Linked DNA regions of Homo sapiens: region 2 is linked to region 1. Evidence: promoter capture Hi-C in 16 types of primary human blood cells and fetal thymus (Javierre and others, 2016). All regions are on one chromosome and are shown on one strand. The core of a region is centred on a gene start or on the middle of the fragment in contact, and the rest is flanking DNA. Distances in the headings are between cores, read along the strand shown. Region 1 holds the start of TRMT1L (tRNA methyltransferase 1L). Region 2 has its middle 27 kb from the start of HMCN1.

What was found. The method cuts DNA at HindIII sites, captures the fragments that hold promoters and counts their contacts. A CHiCAGO score of 5 or more calls a contact.
Region 2: a fragment that was not itself captured here is called in contact with the fragment with the promoter of TRMT1L in region 1 in 7 of 17 cell types (total B cells, non-activated CD4 T cells, naive B cells and 4 more); the score reaches 8.4 in total B cells.

What each region holds. Positions count from the first base shown.
Region 1 is chr1:185,154,543-185,160,099 of GRCh38, reverse strand. TRMT1L (tRNA methyltransferase 1L) reads left to right here and starts at 3,147. Exons shown (of 15, transcript NM_030934.5): 1 at 3,147-3,622. The coding sequence starts at 3,388. It overlaps SWT1 (SWT1 RNA endoribonuclease homolog), which reads right to left and starts at 2,933. Exons shown (of 19, transcript NM_017673.7): 1 at 2,786-2,933. RefSeq lists silencers at 2,541-2,660, 3,401-3,650 and enhancers at 3,201-3,310, 3,154-4,059. The HindIII fragment of the contact is 11,948 bases long and covers 1-5,557 here.
Region 2 is chr1:185,704,073-185,709,738 of GRCh38, reverse strand. No RefSeq gene overlaps it. Among named protein-coding and RNA genes, the nearest start is that of HMCN1, 27 kb to the left of the region's middle. The HindIII fragment of the contact is 3,266 bases long and covers 422-3,687 here.

The DNA.
Region 1 (5,557 bases), core at 1,898-4,397:
TGTCATTACTTGTAAAATAGATAACCCATCCCACAGGGTTTTTGAGGTACTGAAACAATGGATGTAAAATATATCTTGTGGCTGGGCACCACGGCTCACTGTAATCCCAATACTTTGGGAGGCCGAGACAGGCGGATCACCTGAGGTCAGGAGTTCAAGACCAGCATGGCCAACATCATGAAACCTCATCTCTACTAAAAATACAAAATTAACCAGGTGTGGTGGTGCATGCCTGTAATCCCAGCTACTCAGGAGGCTGAGGGAGGTGAATCGCTTGAACCTGGGAGGCAGAGGTTGTAGTGAGTAAGATTGTGCCACTGCACTCCAGCCTGGGTGACAAGTGCGAAACTCCATCTCAAAAATTTAAAAAAATATAAAAAAATATTAAAATACATATATATATGTACATATACATCTTGCATAGGTTGGTACACAGTAATGTCTACATACATACTTGCTTGTATGGTTGTCTTTCTACTAGACACTGAGCTCCTTGAGTGTGCCGTATTAAAAACTTAGGTGCTCATAAATGCCTACTGAGTGAATAAATGAGTGAATTCTTCTTCCTTGGAATATTAACTCTTTCATTCTGAACCACTTCCAATTCACTCACTGTAGTTCCTCTGTCCACCTCCCATCCCCGTCTCACTTTTCCAGCCCTGCTGTGGACCAAGTCAATACTGTTAGTGGATGACAGTATTGTGGACTATCCCAGAAAAACACTTATGTTTATGTTTATTCGGACAAATGTTGTATATTCATACTAGTGTGAAATTCCTATTGATTTTATGCAAATCAAAACATAAATGAGGGGAGACTTCATGTGCTGGCCAGTCTTCAAGATGGCTCCTGATGATTCCTGATGCTTGGTAATCATGCACTTAATGTAATCTGCTACCACAATGAATAAGGCTGACCTGTGTAATCAATAAGATATTACTGCTACATAGTGGTATGTGGCTAAATCATATAAGATATCATGACGTCTGCCTTGTTCTGTCTTGGACTGCTCACTCTAGGGAAAGTCAGAGTGTCATGAGGACACTCAAACAGCCCATGGAAAGGCTCGCAAGGGAAGAACTACTGGCATCTTGCCAACAACCAGAACCAACTAACAGCCAGGCATGTGAGTGTGTTACCTTTGAAGCTGATGATCCTGCACCCCTAATCAAGTGACATGACAGCAGCCCTGGCACATATCTTCACTGCAACCTCAGGAGACCCAAAGCCAGATCAACCCAGAAAGTCATTTCTGAGTTCCTGACCCACAGAAACTGTGGAGTAATAAATGTTTACTGTTGTTTTAAGCTACTATGTTTTGGTATAACTTATGCAGTAGCAATAGATGAATAACATTATTTAATTCTTCAAACATTGACGATTCCTTCTTCAGGATGTCTTACAAGCACAGACCATGCTTAGAAATTCTTACAAAAATTCCCACAGAATCCAGACACTAAAATCTGACCCTTTTAATCTGGTTTCCAGCTGGTGTTAAATGACATTAACATACTGAATCTAGCTTTCAGTTAACCATCTAGTCATTTAGAAATAAAAAATCATCATGAACGACAGTAAAAAAAAAAAAAAGAAATGAGAACAAGAATTATTGGATGATGCACAGATATAGTTAGCATTTCTGTAAGTTATAGTCAGTGTTATCCCATTTTTAATTGACTGTTGAGCCATGAGTCAACTACACATTCAGGAATACTAGATAAAAGCTGTACGGGACGATCAGTAAAAGGGATTTAGGACTATAACTCACAGAAGCTCCACAGGGATAATCTGTTCCCATTAAACTGGGGAGAGGTTAAACACACACACACACCCCTCCAGATATATACTTCTTAACTATAGGGGGAGGAGTTAATTTCCAGTTAGTGCTTCAAAGTGCCAAATAATCATGCTATCTCTTCCCCGGGGTTCTGAAACAAGTAGGAAACAAATAGACCAAGAAGATTGGCGTTTATCAACTTAATTAACTAAGAAAAGCTAACTGGAAGCGCGCGTCTTGTTCTTGAGACTAAATTGGGCTTCCCTCTCCTGCCCTGATGCCTAGAAGGTTCGGACCAAGCCCAAGCAGGGCAGCCAGAAAGTTCACGTTTTTCTCCTTTCTGTCCCAGTGGATTTATCGCGGGGGGACAGAAGAAAGAAACAAGAAAGGCTCGAATGTCAAGTAGGCACTAAGAGTGAAGGGGAGAGAAGTACGGGGGACAGGGGACTCGCTAGCATATGTTTTGGGGATCTGAAACGCATCAAAATTAAATGCCCCGAAGCTCTACCCACTCAGAGCTCTGGTTATTAAAAGCCTGAAAACAAAGCAAAATAGAGCAAAACAACTAATTTCTATCCACTGGCCACACCGCAGAACTGCTGATACTGGCAACATGAAGACTAAAGCAAAAATAAAAACAAAGGAAAAGAGTGTTCGGGTCACGGTGTAGGTGAGGGTGCGAAATGAAGAACAGACCCTAATTCCAAGTCAGCTGGATGGACAGGCAAGCTCGTCAGCTGCTAGTAAACCGCCGCGGGCCCGCGGGCTCCGCACGAACCGACCAGACCCCAACACCGGGCAAGGGGCAGCCCCGGAGGCAAGCCGGGCCAGAACCACACCCTCCACGGAGCTGGCTCGTCCCCGGACCCGCCCACAGAGTCGCCCCGCCCAGGTCCGTGTGACTCCTGAGTCCCCAGTCCGGCCGGCCGCCCGCCCGCCAGTATACTTGGGGCGGGGGACGAGGGGGAACCTGCCCAGCAAAACGTCAACGCACCCCGCAGTTCCTACCTTACCAGCGCCGGCGGCAGTGGCAACTCCGGAGCCCCAAGCCAAAGGAGAGGGACCCCCGCCTCCCAACACACACACACACCCCGCCCCACCAACTGTATGCCTGCTGGGAAACGTAGTTCTGCGCCCGCATCCGCACTACCTACTCACCGCCCCACAGCGCTCGCTTAGATTTGCATTTACTTCCTCCGAGGCTTGAACTCCGGCCCCGCCCCCAGACTGCGCAGTGTATCCTGGGTGCTGTAGTCTTTGTTCGGTTTGGTGGTTGGCCGGTGGGCCGGAGACGCACCGTAGAAACCGAACCCTCTTACCCAATTGGACGCCGTCCCCAGTACGCTTCTGCGCAGTTTGTGGTGGCGTCGTAACGCCTCGGGGAAAGGGAAGCGGACGGGCATCTGGAATCGCTGCCTCTGGCTTTCTGTTTTCTACTAACAGGATTTGGTCACTGGTTCTTCATCTTTTGTCTGTTGCACGCATCCCGCCCTCCCCACTTGCTTCCCCACTCCTTGGATCCAGCCCTGTGGGCATTCACGTCAGTTCTCTGACCCCGCCGTGAGCCCCGCTCCGGGTCCCCGGGCGGGCTTGGCACGGAGGCGGTAACTATGGAGAATATGGCGGAGGAGGAGCTGCTGCCCCTGGAGAAGGAGGAGGTGGAGGTGGCCCAGGTCCAGGTCCCGACCCCGGCCCGGGACTCGGCTGGGGTCCCAGCTCCGGCCCCGGATTCGGCTCTGGACTCGGCTCCGACTCCGGCCTCGGCTCCAGCCCCAGCCCCTGCCCTGGCCCAGGCTCCGGCCCTGTCCCCGTCCCTAGCCTCTGCCCCTGAGGAGGCTAAAAGCAGTAAGTGCAGAAGGCCCAGATCTTTCTGCTGCAGAAGAGAGAAAGTGCGCCTTGCTGGGAAGTAGGGGAGGCCCTTCACCGGGATGGTTTTTATGGGGCAAGGCAGGTTTAGGAAAATGGTGGGGAGGAAAGAGGGGCCCGTGTAGCGGCTAAAGCAGGGTTACAGAATGGGAGACGGCATCTTCATAAGCCTCGAGGATGTCACGGTGAGGGATATGCGGAGAGCAGGAATGCTGCAGATAGAAGGAAATAATGAGGTTAAGGGCTTTTTCTTAAAAGGGAGTCTTTTTAAGGTACAAAAATAGGAAGTTACACATAATTTGGTAGTTTCCCGCAGTCCAGTCTGCCATGGTTAACTAAGTTCTTTCAAATGTGACATAGTAACCGAGGCAACCTGTTTACGGTAGTAGATCCTAGCTGCCAACATTTCTAAACCATTACTGTCAACTAGCTTTTCTGCTTCGACAGCCACAAGGAGATGAGTTTTTCTCATTTCAGTTTTCTTTTCCCCCGCTAGCAGCTTGCCTCCGAAAAGATTTTGAGGCTGAGTAGTAGTTTAGGAAAGAGTCGACTAAATTTACGGATGTTTTCCCCCATACATAAATACCAATTGAGTTTTGTACTCCATTCCATCAGAAATAGACTGTTGAGAATTAATGGCCCATATTATTGTGCTTCTGAATGTGCCTGCATGTTTTCTAAGTGGTGGTTTATTGGACCATATAGGAATTTAAAAGACTGATGAGTAACACTTTCTTAAGGATCTTCTAACATTTTAAAATGTAAGGTCTAAGAAAGACATAATTTAAGTTCTTTTAACATTTAGTTTGTGGTCATAAGTTGACCTTTATGTGCTTTCTGAATTGGAACTTAAAATAATCTTTAATTCATTATTTTTTCTACTTCTAGGCCAGTTTTGAGTTTAATATTTATAAAAGGTTAGATAGTTATAGATAGGATTATTTTGCAGTTTTGAAACAACATACAAATTGTTATAGATTTCAGAGTAGGGCTAATCACAGGAAAGACAAAAGTCAGAATGCTTCAGGTAAGCCCCTTCTCATTATATAAGATCAGAGCTTGTAGGTACAAAATAAGGCCAGTTGTTTCTTCAACTACAGTGGGTAGGGATCGGGGAGGCATGGGGAGCTGAGAGGGTTCCACCCTCCTAAGTAGCCTCCTACCTCACTTCGAAGTTGTATTTGTTTATATTAGTCAGAAGTGGTTCAGCAGCTTTGGGAAATGCATGCATTCTCTACCTCCTCACCATCAAAAATATGTTAAACATAGAAAAGACTTATCTATATATTCCAAAATTTACAAATATGTAATTTGAAGAAGGTATACTATATGGGAAACTGAAAATGCATTAGTAGGACAAATATGTAATGATTGAGAAGTCTGAAATGCATTAGAACTAATACATATATTAATCACATTTTAAACATTATTTTTAGTTGATCTAGTTAGTCCTTTGAAATCAGTCATAACTAGGTAAGATGAAGATAGCCTATCTGAAATAGAATTGAAAATTGAGGAAAAAGTAATAGAATAAGTTGTAAAAGACCCTCCTAGCATCTTGGAGACATCTAATTTAACAAGAAGTTTGCCTGTTGACTTCTGGATTAATAGTGTGTTACAAAAAGCAGATTGAGTATTTTGCATACAGATTGTCTGATACGCACTATCTTAAACCAGAAGGTGATTTCAGAGATGTTTATAGGCATATCATGCATTTTTAAACAGATCTTCAAGAGTTTCTTCAGTAGTAGACCACAGGATTTTTAGTTTTCTAACTTAACCAAGCTCCTTTCTCTTATTTTGTGCTATTTAATAGAATAATTTCAATAGGCACGTCTTTATTGATTGCTGTTTATCTTGTTTTACATACACAGATCTTTGAACTCTGGAACCAAAAGCCTTTATGGTTACAAA
Region 2 (5,666 bases), core at 805-3,304, 550 kb before region 1:
CCATTTGCTTGGTAGATCTTCCTCCATCCTTTTATTTTGAGCCTATGTGTGCCTCTGCACGTGAGATGGGTTTCCTGAATAAAGCACACTGATGGGTCTTGACTGTTTATCCAATTTGCCAGTCTGTGTCTTTTAATTGGAGCATTTAGTCCATTTACATTTAAAGTTAATATTGTTATGTGTGAATTTGATCCTGTCATTATGATGTTAGCTGGTTATTTTGCTCATTAGTTGATGCAGTTTCTTGCTAGTCTCGATGTTCTTTACATTTTGGCATGATTTTGCAGCGGCTGGTACCGGTTGTTCCTTTCATGTTTAGTGCTTCCTTCAGGAGCTCTTTTAGGGCAGGGCTGGTGGTGACAAAATCTCTCAGCATTTGCTTGTCTGTAAAGTATTTTATTTCTCCTTCACTTATGAAGCTTAGTTTGGCTGGATATGAAATTCTGGGTTGAAAATTCTTTTCTTTAAGAAAGTTGAATATTGGCCCCCACTCTCTTCTGGCTTGTAGAGTTTCTGCTGAGAGATCTGCTGTTAGTCTGATGGGCTTCCCTTTGAGGGTAACCCGACCTTTCTCTCTGGCTTGAAGGAGAAATCCCACCTTTCTCTCTGGCTTGAAATGAAGGAAAACATTTTTTCCTTCATTTCAACTTTGGTGAATCTGACAATTATGTGTCTTGGAGTTGCTCTTCTTGAGGAGTATCTTTGTGGCGTTCTCTGTATTTCCTGAATCTGAATGTTGGCCTGCCTTGCTAGATTGGGGAAGTTCTCCTGGATAATATCCTGCAGAGTGTTTTCCAACTTGGTTCCATTCTCCCCGTCACTTTCAGGTACACCAATCAGATGTAGATTTGGTCTTTTCACATAGTCCCATATTTCTTGGAGGCTTTTTTCATTTCTTTTTATTCTTTTTTCTCTAAACTTCCCTTCTCGCTTCATTTCACTCATTTCATCTTCCATCACTAATACTCTTTCTTCCAGTTTATTGCATCGGCTACTGAGGCTTCTGCATTCTTCACGTAGTTCTCAAGCCTTGGCTTTCAGCTCCATCAGCTCCTTTAAGCACTTCTCTATATTGGTTATTCTAGTTATACATTCATCTAAATTTTTTTCAAAGTTTTTAACTTCTTTGCCTTTGGTTTGAATGTACTCCCGTAGCTCGGAGTAGTTTGATCGTCTGAAGCCTTCTTCTCTCAACTCATCAAAGTCATTCTCCATCCAGGTTTGTTCTGTTCCTGGTGAGGAACTGCGTTCCTTTGGGGGAGGAGAGGTGCTCTGCTTTTTAGAGTTTCCAGTTTTTCTGCTCTGCTTTTTCCCCATCTTTGTGGTTTTATCTACTTTGTGGTCTTTGATGATGGTGATGTACAGATGGGTTTTTGGTGTGGATGTCCTTTCTGTTTGTTACTTTTCCTTCTAACAGACAGGACCCTCAGCTGCAGGTCTGTTGGAGTTTGCTAGAGGTCCACTCCAGACCCTTTTGCCTGGGTATCAGCAGCGGTGGCTGCAGAACAGCGGATTTTTGTGAACCGCGAATGCTGCTGTCTGATCGTTCCTCTGGAAGTTTTGTCTTAGAGGAGTACCCCGCCATGTGAGGTGTCAGTCTGTCCCTACTGGGGGGTGCCTCCCAGTTAGGCTGCTCGGGGGCCAGGGGTCAGGGACCCACTTGAGGAGGCAGTCTGCCGGTTCTCAGATCTCCAGCTGCGTGCTGGGAGAACCACTGCTCTCTTCAAAGCTGTCAGACAGGGACATTTAAGTCTGCAGAGGTTACTGCTGTCTTTTTGTTTGTCTGTGCCCTGGCCCCAGAAGTGGAGCCTACAGAGGCAGGCAGGCCTCCTTGAGCTGTGGTGGGCTCCACCCAGTTCGATCTTCCTGGCTGTTTTGTTTACCTAAGCAAGCCTGGGCAATGGCAGGCACCCCTCCCCCAGCCTCGCTGCCACCTTGCAGTTTGGTCTCAGACTGCTGTGCTAGCAATCAGCGAGGCTCCGTGGGCGTAGGACCCTCCGAGCCATGTGCGGCATATAATCTCCTGGTGCGCCGTTTTTTAAGCCCGTCGGAAAAGCGCAGTATTAGGGTGAGAGTGACCCGATTTTCCAGGTGCCGTCTGTCACCCCTTTCTTTGACTAGGAAAGGGAACTCCCTGACCCCTTGCACTTCCCGAGTGAGGCAATGCCTCGCCCTGTTTCGGCTTGCGCAGGGTACACTGCACCCACTGTCCTGTGCCCACTGTCTGGCACTCCCTAGTGAGATGAACCCGGTAGCTCAGATGGAAATGCAGAAATCACCTGTCTTCTGCATCACTCATGCTGGGAGCTGTAGACTGGAGCTGTTCCTATTTGGCCATCTTTTTTTTTGTTCAGCCTCCCCTTGCCCTGAATCCGAATGATCACAAGGTCCCACAATAGGCCAAGGTAGCCAGTCTGAGTCCCAAAAGCTGAAGAACCTGGAGTCTGATGTTCCAGGGCAGGAAGCATCCAGCATGAGAGAAAGATGTAAGGCTAGGAGGTTAAGCCAGTCTCCACTTAGCTCTTCTGGTTATACTGAGCGTTATGGGTTGAATTGTGACCTCCAAAAGCATATGTTGCAGCCCTAACCTGTGGTTCCTGTAATGTGACCTTATGTGGAAATAAAATCTTTGCAGATGTAAACAAATTAAGAGGAGGTCATTAGGGTGGGCCCTTAATTCAATATGACAGATGTTCTTATGAGAGGAAAAGATGACCATGTGAAGAGGTAGACACACAGGAAGAACGCTCTGTAGAGAGGGAGGCAGAGATTGGAGTTATGCTGCCATAAACTAGGGAAAACCTGGGGCTATCAGAAGTTTGAAGAAGCAAGGAAAGATCCTCCCCTAGAGGCTTTCAAGGTAACGTGGCCCTACCAACACCTTGATTTCAAACTTCTAGCCTCCAGAACTGTGAGATAATAAATTTCTGTTGTTCTAAGTCACCCAGTTTGTGGGAATTTGTTATGGCAGCTCCCGGAAACAAATATACTGTAAGTCATAAAGAGCCCAAGGAGGGATAGCTAGTTCTCTATGACTGAATGGACAACTGTACATCAGCAATGGTGTGAAACAAATATCTTCTTCGAAAAAGCATTTGGATGTGATGATCTCTAAAGATCTCTCCTGACTCTAAGATTCTCCAAATTCCCATACAGTAAAGTTTCCACACCAATAGATACATAAGATAGATATGTAGTTTATAGTTAGTGGGCTAGAAAGGCTAGACAACATATCTAACACATGCATGCATTTAAACCTCACATGCCTTATATCAGACATGCTCAGCTTCCCAGAACACCATAGATGTCTACATATCTTCATCCATTAATTCCAACCTTCCCTCAGAAAAGATATAGGAAGGAGATGGTGATAGATTAACTCCATAATAGTTATTTGGGGATTATCCACTATAGTAAAAATAGAAAATAAAATATGAATAGTATGACAAATTTGTGGTCTTGTGTCCTACCAAAATATCTCCTGCCTAGAGGTTTTTTTAAAAAAATAAAAAACACTGGGGTATATAACTACACTTTCTGAATTTAGGGCTGAGAGTCATAGAGTCCAAATTATTCAACTATTCTCTGCACTATCATAATAAAGCAAGCTCATGATTTCCCAAAAGATAGAAGGTACCATTGATACATTTTTTTTCTATGAAACGTTCACAATGTTTTAGGAAAGCTTTTAATGGTACATGATCTACATCTCTGTTTAATCTATGTTTCTGTTTCATGTTTACATAGTTTTATGTATGTCAATATGTTCTCACTTTTACAGAGTCTCTCTTGAATTGTAAACTATGAGAGAGAAAGAGACTCTCTTTTATAGATACAACATGACACAAGATACTTGGAGAATTTTTAAATATAGTAAATAGTGCTTTAGTTAAATGTTATTGTGTTTTGTCATAACCTGCAACTAATAGTGCTTTTTGATCCCCCTCATGGGGTTGTTGGGATGATTAAATATGACAGCTAGGGCAAGGCACTAGCACGGTGTCTAGCAATCAGTAAATCTCCATTAAATATCAGCTCCAGGTTTGATACTGAAACAAGTATTAGGGGTCAATATTTATGCTTAAAATTAAATATGCAAAATTGTAAGATTCTTACCCCTGTAGTGATATGGTGAGAAGAGGCAGAGCACAGAAGTTAGCACAAGCTTTAGAGCTCAACAGTCAGAGTTTGGGCCATGGCTGTTATACTCAGTAACTGTATGACCTCAGGAAGTTATCTGACTCCCAGCTCTTCAGTTATCATTAAAGAATTATTTTCAAAGTCATTAGAGATAGTGTTTATAAAGCACCTAATGTGACAACCAACACATAGTAAGCATTCAATAAATAGTAGCAGTAAATCCAAGGGGGGCTTCAGTCCATATTACCTCATCTCAAAGGATTCCTCTAAGTACTTGTCATTCTGTATACAACTCTTATTTTTATCTAATAATTTGATTTTCCCCAGATGGTTATTACATATTTATATAATGCCTATGTTCGTAAAAAAGCACATAATTAATTTTTTAAATGTATTAAATGCCCTGATAAGGAAACGCATCCAAAATTGAAAAAAGGAAGAAACAAAAAAGTAGATTGCAAGTTCTTCCAATATTTTATGGGTTTAAGATTTACCCAAGGGATTACCCAAGGGATTTCCCAAGGGATTATCCAGGAGAATATAATTTGATTTACTATATACTACTGATTAAAAGTCTCAAACGTAGTGACATTACCACGAAACTTATAAATTTTTGTCCAGTAAAAATGAAAATAAAGTCTGGCTTGTGGAACAGATTATCCCAAAGGTAATGGTATCCTGTAGGATATTAACCAGAATTTTTTAATGCAGTGTAGCAATCTTATCCTGACATTCCTTTATTAAATTGCTTATAAATGCCTAAGTCCTCAAATGCTTTTGCAACCAGCATAAACATCTTACTGATTCCTTCTTTAATAGATAAGCTGAATAGAATCTTTGACTTGTTTATTTTATATTTGCATGCAACTCATGGTTTTCATTTTCTTAAAATTATGTTAGTAGCTTTGAGAAAGCTTAGTAGAAAAAATAATTACCATAGTTAATATTTTAGAAAGTGAAAAATTATTTAGCAACATGAATGATCACTTTCTAATTAATCTCTTATAGCAGCCTTTTCTATGTGTTTTCTCATACCTGAGCATTCTTGTGTTCAGGCCACTGGCATGAGCAAGTACAACTGCCACTTGCTGCAGCAAGATAAGTCGGCTGAAGTTCTAAAGTCTCTTATACAGCTGTATGAGTAATGAGTTCAAAAATCACTCTAACAATTGCTATTGGCTTCCCTTTCTTTGCTTATTCCAATCCTTATTAATGGTCTGAGAGATAAGGCTCCTGTTACCACATGCACACAATGTCTGGCTAGCATCGCACATACGAGATATGGTTTCATTCCAGTTTTCCTGCCACCAGGGGAAATAAACAACAAAGTTGGACTCTGAAGGAATGGGCTTGTTGGTTTAGCCCATTTTGCACCTTGTTAATGTCTTACTCATCCATATAGTGACCATCTGGCAACACTTGGAGCCAGATTTCTGCTTAATTAAGTCATGTGAATTATCAGAGGCTTACATACCCAAAATTTAGAAGAAACAAAGGTGTGGACAATTCTAATCTGAATTTATTAT